Regions from separate parts of the Homo sapiens genome. Here region 2 is linked to region 1. Evidence: promoter capture Hi-C in human tissues and cell types (Jung and others, 2019). All regions are on one chromosome and are shown on one strand. The core of a region is centred on a gene start or on the middle of the fragment in contact, and the rest is flanking DNA. Distances in the headings are between cores, read along the strand shown.

Evidence for each region. Contacts are between HindIII fragments. The study calls those that stand out against the background at their distance.
Region 2: a contact is called between a fragment that was not itself captured here and the fragment with the promoter of ALDH1A3 in region 1, in 2 of the 25 tissues and cell types used here (IMR-90 fibroblasts and lymphoblastoid cells).

The regions. Positions count from the first base shown.
Region 1 is chr15:100,875,962-100,882,646 of GRCh38, reverse strand. It overlaps ALDH1A3 (aldehyde dehydrogenase 1 family member A3), which reads right to left and starts at 2,816. Exons shown (of 13, transcript NM_000693.4): 1 at 2,641-2,816. The coding sequence starts at 2,739. It overlaps LOC124903575 (collagen alpha-1(I) chain-like), which reads left to right and starts at 2,844. Exons shown (of 1, transcript XM_047433433.1): 1 at 2,844-3,701. The coding sequence starts at 2,844. The coding sequence ends at 3,626. GCAWKR (gastric cancer associated WDR5 and KAT2A binding lncRNA) reads right to left here. Exons shown (of 4, transcript NR_160703.1): 4 at 5,769-6,685. RefSeq lists an enhancer at 1,770-2,284 and a silencer at 2,776-2,895. The HindIII fragment of the contact is 10,500 bases long and covers 1,632-6,685 here.
Region 2 is chr15:100,744,165-100,750,040 of GRCh38, reverse strand. The region is part of intron 2 of LOC105371024 (a long non-coding RNA gene); the gene reads right to left. Among named protein-coding and RNA genes, the nearest start is that of GCAWKR, 100 kb to the left of the region's middle. The HindIII fragment of the contact is 6,250 bases long and covers 441-5,876 here.

The DNA.
Region 1 (6,685 bases), core at 1,567-4,066:
GACATGGAAGCAGGACGGAGCTGTAAGGTGTCTCAGGCAGAGGTGAAGATGACAGTCATACAAGTGAATCCTATTGATGCCGATTTCCCGTAACTTCCATCTGACAACAGGCCACTCAGCTAAACTCAAAAAGAATATGTTTTCAGAAAAGGAGATTTGGGGGAATTTTATTTTTCATAAGAGAGATAATAAAAACCGGTGTTTTAAAAATCAGAAAACTTTGAAGAGAATCCCTGCTACTGGAAGAAATTTTATAAGGAAAGAAAGAGGCCCTCTAAATTAGAAGGGACTTCTATCCTCTGAGATCTGTGTGGGGACCCTGGAGGGGCTCTCAGCTCTCCAGAATCACACAGCATGACCCTAGAGAATGAAATGTTAACATGTGAGGACAAATGAAGGGGCTTTGACAAAGTCATCCTGAAAGTTGGACCACCCTGGGAAATGGCACTGCCGGGGCTAGGGCTCAGATGGACCAACTCTGGTGTGTGCCCCATTATCGAGAAGCACCATGAGTCAATTTTGGAAAATAGCAGACCACTGCTGGCTCCCATGCTCCACCGTCTGCTCTCCTGCCAGGCCACCCACCTGCCGGGCCACTCGCCCACTCTGGGCCTCAGTCCTGCACTTCAGTTTATCCCGCTCCTTCCCTCGGCAGGCACTCTTGGTGGCCTCACTCTCGGCCGCCTCTCCAGTCCAGTCTCCCTGAGGACTGTGCCAGGGCACTGGTTGGCCACCCTCAGCCACACAAGCTGCCTGGGTCCACAACTGCTATGGGGAGGTCTCTGCAGAGATGGGCCAGGAGCCAGGACAGAGCAGGCAGCAGCACAGTCCCCCAACGGGTGAGGAGCCAGCAGCCGGTGTCAGGCAGTTGGGGCCTTTATCGCCTGGGAGACCACTCAAGATCCCAGCACTCCAGGCCGATCCACCAGCTTCCCTCAGCCTCATTCCTGCACTGGTTCCCTTTAACTGGCAAAGGTTGCGCACCCACCAAGACAACAGGCAACCATTGCTCTGTGAATTGTCTAAGGTCTCCATAAGGGCTACATCTACACTTTAAAAGTGTCCTAAAAATCATAGAGAAAGAGGTAAACTTTTTGTATGTGGTCAGATTGCTGATAGGACTCAAAAACATAAAAAGTAAAAGGACCATAATACATTTACTGTCTGGTTTCTATATACAGTATTTTGAAATCCTGTACAACCAAAAGAAAACAAACAACCTCCCCACTTAACCATCAGTAGCAGCAGCCAAGCACCTGGGGTTAGGGTCTTACAAAATTCGGGTACCATTTTCACTCTTCCCAGAATTCGTGTTGGAATTTTCACTCTGAAGCTGATATTACAAATAAAACTACATTAAGAATAATTTCCAGCGTTTAGTTTACAGCGACGTGTCTTTGTTGATTACAGAGCCTTCTGAAAACAGTTAATTTAAATGTCTTGTGATCAGAGGCTCAGCCGACATTGGGAATTAAGTGCCAAGAGACCCAAATCTGAAGGCCACACATAGTGCCCTGCAACTTTCTCCGCTTGATTAAAATTCTTTGAGAAAGATAATTGCTACTTCTTAAAGTAAAACGGATGAGGAAATTCTCTAAGTGCGGTGTCAGCTGGAGTTGGGGGCTATGGGTAAAAGCAAAAATCAAGAGAAGCCAAAGGTGGGGAAAGTTAAGGCAATGGCTCTCGGCCTGGCCTGTGCCTCTAAAGTGCCCCAGCACCGGCCCACGACAGACGCGCACGCCAGACAGCCTGGGGGTGTCCTCCATCGGGTCGCGCTCCCGGACCCGGGTCTCTCGGCCCTCCTCAGCCCCAGCTCAGAGGCCTCGGAGGCCTCACCATCTTCTTTTATTCCTTTCTGCCCCGGGCAGGTAATCTCGCCGTTCTGCCAACGCTGTAGCCTCCCAGCCCACAGAGCGAGGAGGCAGAGAACCGTGCGCTTCTGCGGCCTCGCGACCCACCGCTTCCCAAAGGCCCAGGTCTGCGACCTTCCGGAGCGCGCGCCTTGTGTGTAAACACCGGGACCTCTGGGCTCCGGGGAGGTTTCGTCAGTAAGCGAGCACCTTCCTACTCCTCCTCGTTCTGCTGCTGAGCCGGGTATAAACTAAGCACGGAAGGCGCCCGCTGCGCTTTGCTCGGAGGACCCGCTTCCCCAGTCTTCCAACTGCAGCTCCGCCATCTGCCTCCCGGACTCTCTCTTGGCGCTCTCGGACCCTCCGACCCTCTCAAAGCCAGACTCGTCCACCCTGGAAATCATCGCAGGGGTTTTTGGGGAGGGAGCTCCCCAAAACCAGCGCGCTCCGAGTCAACGCGGCGCGCACCTCCACTCGCGATCAAAGCGGGCAGCGCAGGGACACGTCGGGGCCTCGCAGGGATGCGGGCGGCCCGGCCCCGCGCGGGCGCTGGACGGCCTCGGTTTCCCGGCTTCGAGGCTCACAGCGCCGAGCCCCGCCGCCTGCGATCCCGCCCGAGACGTCCCGCGAAAGGTGCGGTTTCTGGAGAGCCGCGCCCGGGCAGGGAGGCTCGGGTCTCGGCGGCGCCCGGCGGACCCCCGGCCCGCTGCTCCCTCGCCCCCGCCGCCCCGAGTCTGGCTGCCCAGCGCAGGGGCCCGCGGCCGTCGGGTGGGAGGGGCGCCCGCCTCACCTTGGTGAACTTGACCTCCAGGTTGCGGATGGGGCGCGGCAGGGCCGGCGGCTTCCTGTCCGGCTGCCCGTTTTCCACGGCCCCGTTAGCGGTGGCCATGGCTCCTCCGCGCTCCCTGGCCCGAGGCGCCCTAGTCTGCGGCGCACCGGCTCGGCCCGGACACTGCGCAGCCCGCTCCCGGGGTGGCAGCTCCCCGCCGCTTTATGCAGCGCCCCACGCCTCCCGCCCGAGGGGGCCGCCTAATTGGCTGCGGGACCGGAGGAAGGGAGGGCGGGCTGCGGGAGGGAGGAGAGGGGAGGGCGGCCGGCCCGCCTCACCCCGCCCCGCCCGCCGCCCCTGCGGGAGCCCGAGCGCCGGCGGCTCCACCCGCGTGCCGCGGACCGTCCCGGCGCCCGCGCCGCGCGCTCTCTCGCCCCGGAGGCTGCCTGTGGACGAGCTCCCCGAGGAGCCGCCGGGCCCCGGAAGTCGCAGGGCTGGGACACCCGACCCGGCAGGGAGCTGAGCCGCGGGGCCACGGCGCCCCGCTGCCTCCCCGAAGTCGGGCGGGCTCCCCGCGCGGCACATGCAGCCCACTCCCAGCCGCCGCACGGCGCGCTCGCCCGACTTCGGCCGGCTCGCGGCGCTCGGGAATGCGCGCTCTCCGCCGGGCCCTGCGCCGCGCCCGGGTCGGGGCTCCTGGCGGGGCCGCCCCGCGTCGCTGCGCACGTGCCCTGCTCTTGGGTCCAGCCGCCCGATCCCCGCTAGCAGGACAGACGCCCGCTGCGCCCCACCCTGCCCGAGCGCGGACAGCCGGCGGGCGCACCCCGGCCCAGCCGGCCTGGAGTCTCCCCGGGGCCCTGGGGCTTCGCCCGCGGTGGGGCAGAAGGCGAAAGCAAAGCGCCGGACCCGGGCGGCTCTCCGCCGAGGAGCCCTGGCGCCGCTGGGCCTCTGACCTTCGCAGGCGCACACCGCCTTCCATCCCAGAGCCCGGGGGGCAATTGATCTGATTTTTTAAATGCATAAATTATACCTCGATTAAAAAATGATAATTAAAAAAAAGCACATGAGACCTTTGCTGCTAATCGTTTTAAGAGTTTAAATTCTTGTCGCGCATTACTTCCCAGGAGGGGGAGGTAAGTCTAGCTCCTCTCCTTTTGCGATTTGGGAAACGCTCCATCAACTCCCAGGACTTGACCCAGGCCCCATCTGAGACACGGAAGCGGCTTCTGATGCATGCCATTCCTCAGGTCGCTGGAACAAAGACCGGAGGCACGGACTCCTGACAAAAGCTGTGCTTTAATCCTCAGATAGGCTCAGCCCCTTCAGTTCATCTCTTTCTGTAGGTAACCCCAAGTAATCAACAATGGGGAGGGGTCTCCTTATTTTCCTGTTTTGAGGCCTCCGTGTCCATCTCTCTGTCCCCTGGTGTCCTTCTGGATAGAGCTGGATAGAGGGGTAAGTTTTGAAGCTTTTGGAAACCCCACATCTGACCCTTACCCTGGGGTTGTGGAAAGGTCTTGTGCTGTTATGGCCTGGAGTGCACAGCTGAGGCCGGGGAAAGGGGATAATGGACCCTCGAGCGGGGCAGCCTTGACCGATATCGGCTGGCTAACACTGGCGAGTCTGAGCAATGCCAGCTCTTTCCTCAGCTGCTTCTGCAAATCCGGGGCTCCCTGCCCTCTTGGCTGGCCCCATGGCTCCCACTCAGATCTCCTGAAAACATCTGGGCAGATGTGCTATGCCACGGCCCCCGGCTGGGTGCTGAGCCCTAGCGTTTGGGTGCCTGAGCCCAAGAGGACCGTCAGGGAGTAGTGACAAACCCCTCCTGCATGGATGGAGGCCAGGGGCCCAAGGCCAGTGTGTGCAGCAGGCCCCAGGAAGCTGCAACTAGAGATGCTTTACAAACTGAACTCCCATCCTGAGACTTTATCGGGGGTCCTTGATGGTTGAAATTATGTCACTGCCAGGATTTTAAAAAAAAATCTGAAATAAAATTTATAGAGGAAACTGTGTTAATTAAATAATTGCTGGATTGATGGGGGAGGCAAATGGGGTTGAGCTTAGAACTCTGCTCCTTTAGGGAAGATAGTCGAGCCTGTTTGGTCAAAGATAGACAGTCACCACTTTGTTGGCTATGAAGTCAGGAATGAAAGCCACCTCACCTCACACTCAGACATCCTTGTGACCCGAGGCGTCTGGTCTCAGGAGCCAGTTGCAAAGATGCCGACTGGCTCACCTGCAGCTCCTCCGTTTGATACCCACGTGATCCTGGGAGCCTGAGATCAGACTGGAGCACTCAGCCATAGACTTTGTCACAGTAGGTGGCTCCCAGAGAGCAGGTCAGGAGGATGGGCCTAGCTCTGGGCTTGTCCAGACAAGCAGGCTCTACCTCTGCTCCCATCGGCAGGAGGGGTGGAGGCAAATGCGCTTCTCCCCATTTTACGGGTGAGTAAACAGAGGCGTGCAGACACTTGCCCCAGACATCACCATCGGTCGAGAAACTAAGGCCAGACTGTGTGAGAGTGGGTGGTGCAGTGCAGGGAGGAGGGGCTTCTCTGACATTCCTCTGACCTATTCTTTCAAGCAGGTGAGCACCTATGACCCAGGGTGGTCCCATGTCACTGGGGCTGCATAGGGCATAGTGAAGACACGAAGGGCTTTGAAGGTCAAAAATGGCGGGAGTATCCCTTTTCGTTGTGCCTTTCCTAGGAACCATATCTCCTAGCTGTGGCCTCAGAGGCAGGGACCACAGGGGCCGGGAAGGAGGAAGATTTATTTTTGCTCACAGTGGGTTGCTGGGTGTTTGGTTCAGTGATGAGGTGCCTGAGCATCGGAGATGGCAGAGGCCCAGCCCCTTCTGCTCACATCCCTGAACTGAGTCCCAGCTATGCACCCTTGGATGGGATATTGATCTCTCTGAACTTCAGTGTTCTTTTCCATAATCTCCTTCCCACTTACTTTACAGTGTTTGGGGAGGCTTAAGCAAGATAAGGCTCTCAAGAAGTGCTACCTACATACCAGCTCTTCATTTTCATATTCTTCCTGGAGACTGGTTCCTCTTTGCTGGCTTTTCTTCTTGGAAGTCAGCAAGTTCCCCCCACTTGTCTCTGGCTTGCGGGAGCCCCCCAAGTCAACAGTCCCTCTGCTCATTTCATTGTGAAAAAGTATTTATTCATTTTGTTTCCAGCTCTGTGGTGCTGCCGTTGTCTGCTGTTTGTCTTGTTGGTGCATCAAATGAGCTGAGTCCAAGACATGTCATGTTGCAGGCTTGTTTGCGGATGACCACTCAGTAAAAAGAAGCATGAATAAAAGACAAAGATAAAACAGAAGTCAGGTGGTCACCCCCTAAGTTCAACCTCATTCCATTTCTAAACCCATAATCATCTGTGGGTGATGTTGAGGTCTGAAGCAAACGTAGTGAATAATGATGATGACGTTGATGAACCCCCTACTGTGTTTCATGTTATTTCAGATCTGGTACCTGAGCCTTGTGGAGAGACGCCCAGGTCTGCTGAGTACCCCTTGTGTCCCCGCAGCCTCTGGCCAGCTGCAGAGCTGCCCCTCCCACCCAGTCTACTCACCTCCCTCAGTGTTGTGGAGTTGAGGCAGGGGCCTGAGTCTTGGGTGTGCCTTCTGAACCCTTCCTAGACAGCCAGGCCCCTGGGCTGAGGGTAGTTCTTTGATGTAGGGAAGCCCGGTCACCCCACTGTGCAGCACTCAGGCCAGTGCTTGGGTGACTCAGGGAGGCGACCTAACTTCAGGTTTTTTGGCTACAAAATGGGGGTGGCATGTGCCCCTGTGGTGAGGGAGGGCTGACTTCACTGTGAGCACCTCCTTGCTGGTATCAATGAAGTCAATTCCATGTTTCATGTGAGTCATTCGGTATCGCCTCAACCTGACTAGAATAGGCAACTACTTACCTTTGAAGCTCACCGTATATTAAGACCCATCAAATACTACAACATTGTTCTGTCCTCAAGGAACACACAAACAAATCTTTTCCCTGCGAGTTTCCATCAGTGATTGATGATATCGAGGCAGGAGCACCCCAGGTTGGAGAAAGAGG
Region 2 (5,876 bases), core at 2,316-4,815, 130 kb after region 1:
ACAAATGTTCACTGCAGCACTATTCACAATAGCAAAGACATGGAATCAACCTAAATGCCCATCAATGACAGACTGAATAAAGAAAATGTGGTACATAAACACCATGGAATACTGTGCAGTGATAAAAAAACAAGATCATGTCTTTTGCAGAAATGTGGATGGAGCTGGAGGCTGTTATCCTTAGCAAACTAACACAGAAACAGAAAACCAAGTACTGCATTCTCACTTGTAAGTGGGAGCTAAATTGTGAGAACTTGTGAACACAAAGAAGGAAACAATAGACATTGGGTCTACTTGAATGTTGAGGGTGGGAGGAGGGAGAGGAGCAGAAAAGACAACTATTGGGTACTGGGTTTAATACCTGGGTGATAAAATAATCTGTACAACAAACCCCCATGACATGAGTTTACCTACATAACAAACCTTCACATGTACCCCAGAACTTAAAACAAAAGTTAAAAGAAAAAAAAGAAAAAAAAATCATTGCCAAAACCATTGTCAAAAAAACGTTACTAGGAGTTAACATTACAATTGTGAAAGGAAAATGAATCTTGGGACCCCAAACTCACTAAGCCAGAGGGAAAAGCCAAGCTGGGAACCAGGTCATGCAAACCTGCCTCCCATTTTGATTCCTAAATAAGATGGTTACAAAGATGAAAAGCTACATACTTCCCTCACATTGTGCCCACATGAAAATTCCTTGTGGGACCCAAGATCTTTACCCTGAAGCGGTTCTGTTAAAGTTCACCACAGCCATGTAAATTGATAGCTTATCTTCACAGGTACAGAGACAAAGGACAGAACTCAAAGTCGTCCCTTTGTTCATCTGAGACAAATGCATACGTAATTGTTTCCTCTGCCCTGTTGTCTATGTTATCTTGTGTAAAAATGCAGATTCACTGAGCCAGACAAAGGCATGAATGACTATTTCCCCCTACCCCATTCACATGAAAATTGTGTATTTCTCAGTATCCTACCCTTTCCCTTTTGAATGTTGAAGCCCTCAAAATCATATTTAAAGAAAGGCATAGACCTATCTCCCCGGTGCATGTCCTTAACTTTGGCAAATACGTCTCCTAAAATGATTTTTTTAATTAAAATAAATAAATTAGGAAAAATTCTGCTTCTGGGAAGATGGAGTAGACATATCTTTCCCTAATTTCCCACTAAGCACAACTAAAACTCTGGACATTATATATAAAACAAACACGATAAGTCTCTGAAAGGTGATGAGGAGAAGGTAGGCTGGCTAAGTGCCTTAAGACTCAAGGAATGATGTGGTAGTGAGTTCTGTAGGGTTTCTTTTTGCCTCATATATCCTAAACTTGGAACTGAAAAAGCTGGCAAGCTGGAGATCCCGATGAACACAAACCACCACCACAATAACGAAAGCTTGCTCTCTCTAACAAAAGGGCCAAGAAAGGGGCAGCCTAGCAAGACAGAAAACTTGTACAGACTAACTGCTCTATTCCAGTGAAAACCACAGAAAACATTACCTACATCAGCAAAGACCAAGGAGAGAGCCTAGACTTCTTCCTTTGTGAGACTCTTAACACACACCAAAGGGTGACGTCAGAGAAGACCCAGTAGACACCTAAGATTTTCATCCCCTCTGGTAAGTAATGAGATATGAACCCCCAGGGTCAGTGGAGACAAGTTAGCGAGCTAGACCTCCCACCCACATCCAGCAACAACACAGAACCCCACAGCTTGGGTGTCCACAGAGGCTGAGTGAGGAACCTGCACTTCTACCCCTACCTGGCAGTAACAAGGCAGCACTCCTTTTCCACCTCTGCAAAAACAATGTCAGAGAAAGCTAGCTAAAACAGAAGATTTAAATATGGTCCAAATTTTGCTAACATAATACAAAAATGTCCAGATTAGAGTTGAAAATCACTCATCATGTCAAGAACTAGAAAGATCTCAAATGTAATGAAAAAGACAGTGAACAGATGCCAACATCAGGATGACAAAGACGTTAAAATTATCTTAAAGATATTTTAAAGAAGACAGGATAAAAATGCTCTAACAAGCAATTATGATCACGAAATACATCTAAAAAAAAAACTTAAGAAACAGAAATTTTCCACAAAGAAGATGTAAAGAAGAACCAAATGAAAATTTTAGAACTGAAAAATACAATAGCTGAAATAAACAGCTTAGTAGATGGGTTCAACAGCAGAATGAGGGGACAGAGGAAAGAATCAGTAAACTTGAAGATAGAAAAATAGAAATAAGCCAATCTGAACAACAGAGAGAAAATATTCTGGAAAAAAAAAAAAAGAACAGAGGGTTGGGGACTGAGGGGACTATGACAAACGATCTAATGTTTGGGTCATAAGAGTCCTGGAAGAAAAAGGTCCAGGCTGAAAAAGCACTTGAAGAAATAATGGCTGAAAAACTTACCAAATTTAGCAAGAGACATAAATTTACAGATTCAAGAAGTAGAACAAATGCCAAATGGAATAAACCCCAAGAAAAACATGCCAAGACACATCAAAGTAATACTTTTGAAAACTAAAGACAAAAAAAAAATTCTGAAAGTGGCCAGAGAAAACCATAACATCTTACCTATTGAGGAAAAACAATTTGAATGACAGCAGATTTCTCTTCAGAAAGCAAAGAGGCCAGAAGAAAGGGGTGTAATATTTTTCAAGTGCTGAAAGAAAGGAATTGTCAACCTAGAATCAATACCTAGTAAAATAGCCTTATGATTGAAGTGAAAAATCAAGACAGTTTTGAATGAAGGAAAACTAAGAAAATTGTCACCAGCAAATCTACCCTAAAATAATAAAGGAATTTCTCAAAATAGAGACAAAACAATAAAAGAAAGAATCTTAGAATATCTAAAAGGGGCTGGGGCCAATGGCTCGCACCGGTAATCCCAGCACTTCAGGATGCCAAGGCAGGCAGATCATGTGAGGCCAAGAGTTGGAGACCAGCCTGACCAACATGGCGAAACCCCATCTCTACTAAAAATACAAAAATTAGCCAGACGTGGTGGTGCGGCCCTGTAATCCCAGCTACTCAGGAGGCTGAGGCACAAGGATTGCTTGAACCTGGGAGGCGGAGGTTGCAGTGAACCGAGATCATGCCATTTCACTCCAGGCTGGTGACACAGCGAGACTCTGTCTCAAAAAAAAAAAAAAAAAAAAGATATCTAAAAGGAAGAAAGAACATGGAAAGAACAAAATTACTAACTAAAAGATTTTCCTTCTTCTCTTGAATTTTCTAAATTAAGTTTGATGGGAAAAGCAAAAATTATAACACTGTGTGATATGGTTCTAAAGATATGCAGAGGAAAATTCAGTACAGTTATAACTGGAGGAAGGTAAAGGGATATAAAGAGAGGGAAGATATCTATACTGAATTAACTGGTAAAATGACAATACTAGCAGACAGTGATAAATTATTTTATGTAATTTAATATTTAGAGCAATCACTAAAAAAAATTCTAAGAAATACACTCAAAAGCACTACAGATAAATCAATTGGAATTCTAAAAAATGTTCAAGTAACCCATAGGAAGCAGGAAAAGAAAACAAAGAAACAATGAAAAAAAGGAATAAACAAAATTTTAAAATGGCAGACTTAAGTTTTAACATATTTATAATTCTATTAAATGTAAATGATCTAAGTGCACCATTTATAAGACAGAGATTGGAAGAGTCTGTTTTAAATGGACAAAGTAGACAACATGCGAGAACAGATGGGCAATATAAGCAGGGAGGTAGAAATCCTAAGAAAGAACCAAAAAGAAATGCTGAAAGACAAAAACACTGTAACAGAAACGAAGGATGCATTTGATGGGCTTATTAGTAACCCATCAAAAGAAAGATAAGAAAGAGAGAAAAAAACAGAAAAAAAATACTGGAACAATATTTCCACCAAATAAATGTCACACACCAAACCATAGACCCAGGAAGTTCAGAGAACACCATGCAGGATAAATGCCAATAACACTGCACCTAGGCCTATCATCTTCAAACTACAGAAAATCAAAGAGAGGAAAAACATGTTACTACAAAGAAACAAAGATAAGAAATTATATCCAACTTCTCTTCAGAAACCATGCGAGCAAGAAGAGAGTAGAGTGAAATAAAGTGTGGGGAAATAAAACCCACAACCCAGCAACCTACAATTCTGTACCCTGTAAAATTATCCTTCAAAAGTGAAGGAAAAATACTTTCTCAGACAAACAAATATTGAGGGAATTCGTTGCCCGTGAACCTGCCTTGCAAGAAATTTTAAAAGAAGTTCTTTAGGGAGAAGGAAAATAATGTAGTTCAGAAACTTGGACCTACGTAAAGAAAGTATAAAGGTTGAAGAAAAAATACGTGAAGGTAAAATAAAAATGTTTATTTTTCTTATTCTCAGTTGATTTAACAGATAAATTTGTTTAAAATAATAATAGCAACATTGTATTAGATATATATATGCACTTATATATAAATAAAATTAGTGACAGCAGTGATACAAGAAATGGAGAAGAGGAATTTGGATTATTTGTTATTATAAGGTATTCACACAACTTGTGAAGTGGGATATTGTTATTTAAAAGTACACTCAAATTAGTTGTCAATGTATGTTACAACTCTAGGGAAACCACTAAAAAATAAAAAAAGAAGTACAACTGATATGCCAAGAAAGGAGAGAAAATGGAATGTAAAATGCTAATTAAGACCACAAAAGATAGGAAAAGAGTAGAAGACAAAAGAAGAAAGAAAGATGAAAGGCAACAAATAGAAAAGTGTAACAAATATGGTAGATACGAATCCAATGATATCAATAATAATGTTGAATGTCAATGATATAATATGAATCCAATTATACCAATAATAATTTTGAATGTCAATGATATAAATGCACCAACTAAAAGACAGTCATTGTCAGAGTGGATCAATAAACAAGACCCAACTATATGTTCTCTACCAAAAAAACAAAAAGCAAACCCACTTTAAATATGAAGATAAAAATAGGTTAAAAGAAAATGGACAAAATATTACAAAGTAAGGTTAATCAAAAGAAAGCAGAAGTAGCCATATTAATTTTAGAAAAAGCAGACCTAAAAGCAGGGAAAGTGATCATGGATAAAGAAGGGCATTACATAGTGATAAATGGGTCAATTCTCCAAGAAGACATAACAATCCTTAACATGTATGCACTTAACATCAGTGTCAAACTATGAGACACAAAAACTGATAGAATTGCAAGGAAAAATAGATGAATACACTGTCATAGTTGAAGATTTAAAAACTCTTGATCATAAATGGGCAGATCCAGCAAGCAGTAAATCAGTAAGGACATAATTGAACTCAACAACACCATAAATCAACTGGATATAATTGATACCTCTAGACTATTTCATCCAACAACAGCAGAATACATATTCTTCTCAAGCTCACATGGGACATTCACCAAAATGGACCATATTCTGGGCTATAAAATACACGTAATTAAAAAAACAAAAAACAGAAATCATTGAATATCTACTTTCAGACCCCAAAGTAATTAAACTAGAAATTAATGACAGGAAGATAATGGGATAATCCCCAACTACATAGAGATTAAACAACACCTTTCTAAATAATATACGGTCAAAGAAGAAAACTAAAGGGAAACTTTAAAATATTTGGGACTAAATGAAAATTAAAACATAACTAATAAAAATTTGTGGGATGCAGTGAAAGCAACACTTAGTGGGAAATTTATAGCACTGAATACACATATAAGAAAAGAAGATCTAAAAACAAACTAATTTCTATATTAGGAAGCTAGAAATAAAGAGTAAATTAAATTCCAAGTATGCAGAAGAAAAGAAATAATAAGAATTAGAACAAAAAGTAATTAAATTGAAAATAGGAAATTAACAGAAA